Linked DNA regions of Homo sapiens: region 1 is linked to region 2. Evidence: promoter capture Hi-C in human tissues and cell types (Jung and others, 2019). All regions are on one chromosome and are shown on one strand. Each heading gives the region's core, a stretch centred on a gene start or on the middle of the fragment in contact. The rest is flanking DNA. Distances are from core to core; before and after follow the strand shown. Region 1 overlaps LOC124905020 (a long non-coding RNA gene). Region 2 holds the start of DSCR4 (Down syndrome critical region 4).

The links. The method cuts DNA at HindIII sites, captures the fragments that hold promoters and counts their contacts. A contact is called where the count stands out against the background at its distance.
Region 1: a fragment that was not itself captured here is called in contact with the fragment with the promoter of DSCR4 in region 2 in 4 of the 25 tissues and cell types used here (dorsolateral prefrontal cortex, ovary, pancreas and 1 more).

What each region holds. Positions count from the first base shown.
Region 1 is chr21:38,169,206-38,171,905 of GRCh38, reverse strand. LOC124905020 (a long non-coding RNA gene) reads right to left here. Exons shown (of 3, transcript XR_007067862.1): 2 at 2,638-2,700; 3 at 206-1,108. Among named protein-coding and RNA genes, the nearest start is that of DSCR10, 36 kb to the left of the region's middle. RefSeq lists an enhancer at 1-131. The HindIII fragment of the contact is 4,272 bases long and covers 1-2,700 here.
Region 2 is chr21:38,119,963-38,122,662 of GRCh38, reverse strand. It overlaps DSCR4 (Down syndrome critical region 4), which reads left to right and starts at 1,303. Exons shown (of 3, transcript NR_147130.1): 1 at 1,303-1,535; 2 at 2,255-2,356. DSCR8 (Down syndrome critical region 8) reads right to left here and starts at 1,212. Exons shown (of 3, transcript NR_026842.1): 1 at 1,062-1,212; 2 at 252-351. The HindIII fragment of the contact is 7,375 bases long and covers 1-2,700 here.

The DNA of each region.
Region 1 (2,700 bases), core at 102-2,601, 49 kb before region 2:
GCTGGTGGGAAGGAAGCAGCATTCCAGAAGCATTAGCTAATTACCGCCCTCTCTAGGACTGCATTCCTTGTCACAGATGCAAAACCTAATAAATCACAGTATATGTTCCTGCTTTTTACTTTCAGGAGAAAAAAAGCAAAAATCCATCAAAGGAACTAACAGAAGGGACTCTGTATACGTCTAGGTTGGTTATGCAGAAGCAGTTTAAGGTGGATAAGCTTGAATCGAATATGCCTTTCTCATGAACAACATTATTTTGTAGATTTATGTAGATTATGTTATGTTAGGTAAGTTCCAGAAAAAAAGAAAATAGTTTATCTTTTGGCGAAGGTGGGGGAGGAGGTTGTGGGTTGTAAAACCAAACATCCTAAGTGTTTCTGGCTATTCATATCTCTGAGTAAGGGAAATACTGCTTGGACTCCTTGCTCTGTGACCTTGGGCATGGTGCAGTGGCTTCCGAGCCTAACCAAACGGGTGCGAAGCCTTATCAGCTGTGTGTCCCTGAGCACCTTTCTTAACTTTTTCATGCCTCAGTTTCCTTATCTGTCAAGTGGAGATAATGCTAGTGCTTATATATAGGGCTGCTGTGAGAATTAAGTGAATAAATATTTATAAGGTGGTTAGAATAGTTCTTGACCTTTAGTTAATGTTGCCTCAATGTTTGTTGATTAATTCTGAAGTCCTTTATCAGCTGTAACACCCTGTGAGTCAATGGTCCTTTTCTGTTGCCTTCGACAATATTATGTAATCAAAATTCTGATCCCAAATGCTGACCTGAGAGAAAATGCCTGATTCGGAATGAGCCAATAGCAGCCCCATTATATTTTCTTTACTTGGCTTTCTGAGCAGCAGTCACATTTAAGGCGTTGCCATCAAAAAGGGTGAAACACAGAGGTGTTTGATTTAGCTGACTTTTGTCAGAAACTTGATTCACTGGACACTGGTTGAGTGGCCTCATTTTGGCTGAGATTTTCATTTGAGGCTTTCTGTGTTTCCACTAGATGGCATATCAGTTTGTTCCATTGTGTTTCTGCTGATTCCTGCTCCTCTTGGGTGTAGATCAATGCTCTTGTTCTGGTTTGGGGGAAGGCTGGTGCTGGAGAAGCTTCTAGAAGGAGCATGGAAACAGCCCCATTTAGCCCCAGGGATACAGAGATGTGGGGAGGTGAGATACAAGGCTCAGCCAGCCTGGAATGGTGCAACAGTCCCCTTTACTCCCCGGCCAGTTAAACCCTGGATTGCACCAAAATGACAGGCTGAGGGTCATCAGCTGTGGTCCTGCTCACTTCCTGATGACAAGAAAAGTGGCCCCAAGGCAATCCTGAGGACACTAAGGCAGTGAGAAGAAAGATAACCTACCCCCACTACATCATGCTTGGCTTGAGGGGACTGCCAGCTGCCAGCCTCCCAACCACACAAAACGAGGATCCAACCCAGCTCCCTTAGAAACAATCAGTGCCTGCCACTTCCTTCCAAGTCTTCTGGTCTCACAGCCTCCTCTGCTGGTGAGAGGCGACAGGAGTTTGTCAAACAGGGTGAATGACATATGTCCAGCATCCACCTGTTGTCTCAGTTATTAATAATGCCTCTTTTACTCTCAAAAGTGGCCCAGTTTGGAGAAGGAAGTGTGTGGTTCATCCTGCACTTAGCATCTTCTGAAATGCTGCAGTGGGGAGGTGGATTCAGTTACCTGGAGTGTGGATGTTGTGGATGTCCCTATGCATGGGAGTGGAAGTGGGCAGAACAGGGCTGCAGCCTGGGGGCTTCTACCAGGTCAGCTGGCAGAATTAGAATCTCTGCTCAGAAAGCCCTCCATGAGCCTGGCTATGGAAGGGCACAATGCCTGATGCCCTTACCTGCCCTTCCCTGCCTAGCGTGAGCCTGTGGGTGCAGCCAGAGGTGGGATGTGCAAGGTAGGCATAGTGGGTGACCTGAGCACTGGTGCTCCAGTGAGTGAGGGGTGGCAGAGCTGAGCACTGTGGGGTGAACAGGAGGTGATGACTTAAATACTACGTGGAATAGAGAAAAGGAAGAAATGGGGAAAGACAGAGAGTTTGCAGCCAACTCACTGACTGGCCTTGGGCAAGTTATTTTTTAGAGTCTTTCTTTCAACATCTGTTAAATGATGGTGTTGATAGATCGTGGCAGTGTTTTGGAGGAAAAGGAAGGATAAGGTGTATATCATGTCTTGTGGATTCTATTTCCCAGAACCTTAGTAGGTGTACTGCACAACAGCCTGCATTAATATTATCATATCATTACTATCATAATACCATTAATTTCATTGCATTGCAGGTACTGTGGCTGAACCTGAGCTCCAGACCTTTGAGATCCTGATGGAATTACAGAGGGTGCTTACATAGGGAGCAGCACAAACCAGCTCATATAAGGTGTAATGAGTTAATCATGTAATATGGAGGATGTTACTAATGTAATATGTAATGTGAATTATTGTGATATGTAGTGTGTATCAGTATAATTTGTAGTGTGTTAGTAATGTAATATGGTTCGTGCTGCAGTAGTTTGCTGTCTACTAGGATGGAGGACTTACATGGATGTCTGGGGCAATCTCCATCCAAATGAGCCATCCAGTTATGAGCATGCAAAGCAAACATTTCCTCCCAAATGTCCACTTACATTTATTGCTTTCATGAGACAGATGAGGCTTCATGGAGTGAAAAGCTTTAAGCACCTTTTATG
Region 2 (2,700 bases), core at 54-2,553:
CTTTTTTTTTTTTAATTTAACCATCATTATGTTGTGCATTCATCATCTGGAGTTTTTAGTTGTTTAGAATTCCCTGTTGGCAGCCAAATTCCTGTCTGGGAAAATGTATGAGCCAGCCTTCATTTTCCACGATGACTTTCCAAGGAACCATTACAATTAAGAGAATGTAAGTTACTCATCTCCAATAACTGTACATGAAGCAATATTCCGAGGATTTGTTAACTGTCTTTGACAGGAGATCATCTACTCACAGTAGGTGCTTAACAAATGCCATCTTGAATGAATGAAGACCCTTTCTCACAGTAACAAAGTTGGGTCCAGGCTCCTTCATTTTTGCTCAGCAAGATGAAGCTAAGGAAACAGGAAATAAGTCATCAACCAAATCATAGTAACAAATCGTTCTATTCCATTCTCCATAATTCACCCTTCAGTCCAGGGGAACACTAACAATTGCCCCTCCAGATACAAAGAAATTGCCTCCTCTGAAGACAGCTGCCTCACCTAAGGCCACATTTCCTTCCAGGTTGCCCCACTTCCAATGAGTCACTGATTGGCAATCCATAAAGGTCAGCTCTCTTGCCTCAACTCAGCATACCTCTGACAGATCGTCCCATCTTCCCGTCTCCCTTGAGGTTTGACTGGGGTTGCTGCTGACCCAGTGATATAGGAGTTAAGAAGAAAGTACTTAGGCAGATAGTGAAGGTATGGGAGTCCTCAGTAAGGTCTTCCTTTTAATGAAAAGCAGCCCCCAAATCATTTTCTTTTCTAACAAAAAGCAACCTGGAAAATCGAGCTGCAGACACAGACAAGCAAGCTGAAAGCTTGCACAGGCAAATACCGGCAGTTGTGCCAATAAAAATATACTACCTGGGGCCGGCGCTGTGGCTCACGCCTGTAATCCCAGCTACTCAGGAGGCTGAGGCAGGAGAATCGCCTGAACTTAGGAGGCGGAGGCTGTGGTGAGCCAAGATGGCGCCATTGCACTCCAGCCTGGGCAACAAGAGCGAAACTCCGACTCAAAAAGCGACAACAGCAGCAACAACAACAACAAAAAACACTACCTGGGATTAGGCATGTTCTAAATGGCAGCTCCATCTTCTCTTTTTGCCACCCATGTTTACAGAAACGAGTGGACAAGACGGCCCCTGCCAAGTGGGAAGCCTATTTGCATAACAAGATTAGGGTGGGGTGACCAGCCTTCCCTGCGCGCTACGTAAACGTCACCCCTGGTCGAACCAATCTCTGGGCTCCACGTAAATCAGACACCGCCTCCTCAAGCCTGCCCGTAAAACCTGCTGCCGTCAGTCACGGGCCAGCCTTTCCCTTAAGGATGTCTGAGAGCTGGTCTCCTCACTCTTTTCTTCCGCCTATTAAACTTTCCGCTTCTTAACTCACCCATGTGTGTCCATGTCGTTAATCATCTTGACGAGAGATGATGAACCCCGGATATTTACCCCAGACAGTGATGCCGCTTCACCAGCATTGCACTCTACTTCCCCGCTTCCTGATCCTGCCTCAGCTTCTCCTCTCCACAGGTATTGATCCCAAGAACAACCCGTAAGAAATGTCCTGCACGCTAATCTCCATCTCAGAGTCAGCTTCCCAGGGAATCCAGCAATTACGAAGCATTCAGCTTAATTTTGTTGATTGCTTTATGATTTTGTGTGTGTGTGTGTGTTTTAATGTTGAAATGTAACATATATTCAAAAGTGTGGATAAAGTCTCCATGACGATTAGTTTCCTGTGTCATCATGGGGGCCAGGCTTTAGTGCCTTTTTTTTTTTTTTTTTTTTTTTTTTTTTGTGGTGAGACAGAGTTTTGCTCTTGTCACCCAGACTGGAATGCAGTGGCGCGATCTCGGTTCACTACAACCTCCTGGGTTCAAGTGATTCTCCTGCTTCAGCCTCCCAAGTAGCTGGGATTACAGGTGCCCGCCACCAAGCCAGGCTAATTTTTGTATTTTTAGTACGGATGGGGTTTCACCATGTTGGCCAGGCTGGTCTTGAACTCCTGACCTCAAGTGATCTTCCTGCCTCGGCCTCCCAAAGTGCTGGGATTACAGGCGTGAGCCACTGCACCCGGCCTTTACTGCCCATTTATTTAATCAAACACTAATCTAGGTAGTGCTGCAAAGGTATTTTGTAGATGTAGTTAACATCTACAATCAGTTGGCTTTACATAAATCTTACTTTTCATACTGTGAATGGGCCTTATACAATCAGAAGCCTTAAGAGCAAAAACTGAATTTTCCTAGAGAAGAAAAAATTCTGCCTAAAGTCTGCAACATCGTTTCCTGCCTGAGTTTCAGCCTGCCAGCTTCTCCTACGGATTCTGGACTTGCCAGCCCCACAATCATGTAAGCCAATATGCTAAAATAAATTTCTTAATATAATTCTTAATGTATATATCCTTTTGATTCTGTTTTTCTGGAGAAATCTGGCTTATACAGGCTCTTAACATGATTGTTTATCTGTCAATTTTTATTTTATGGCTATGTTATTAGGTATAAACAAATTTACGATTATTTCATATTAAACCTGAAACGTTGATTATTCTGAAACGAGCCAGTCTTTGCTTTGGTTTTGTAACTTTTGCTTTGCATAGTAGTTTTACCATCCCTTACTTACTTTCAACCTGTCGATATCTTTATATTTAAAGTAAGCAGCTTGTTTAGCTTTGCTTGATATTATTACCTTCTCT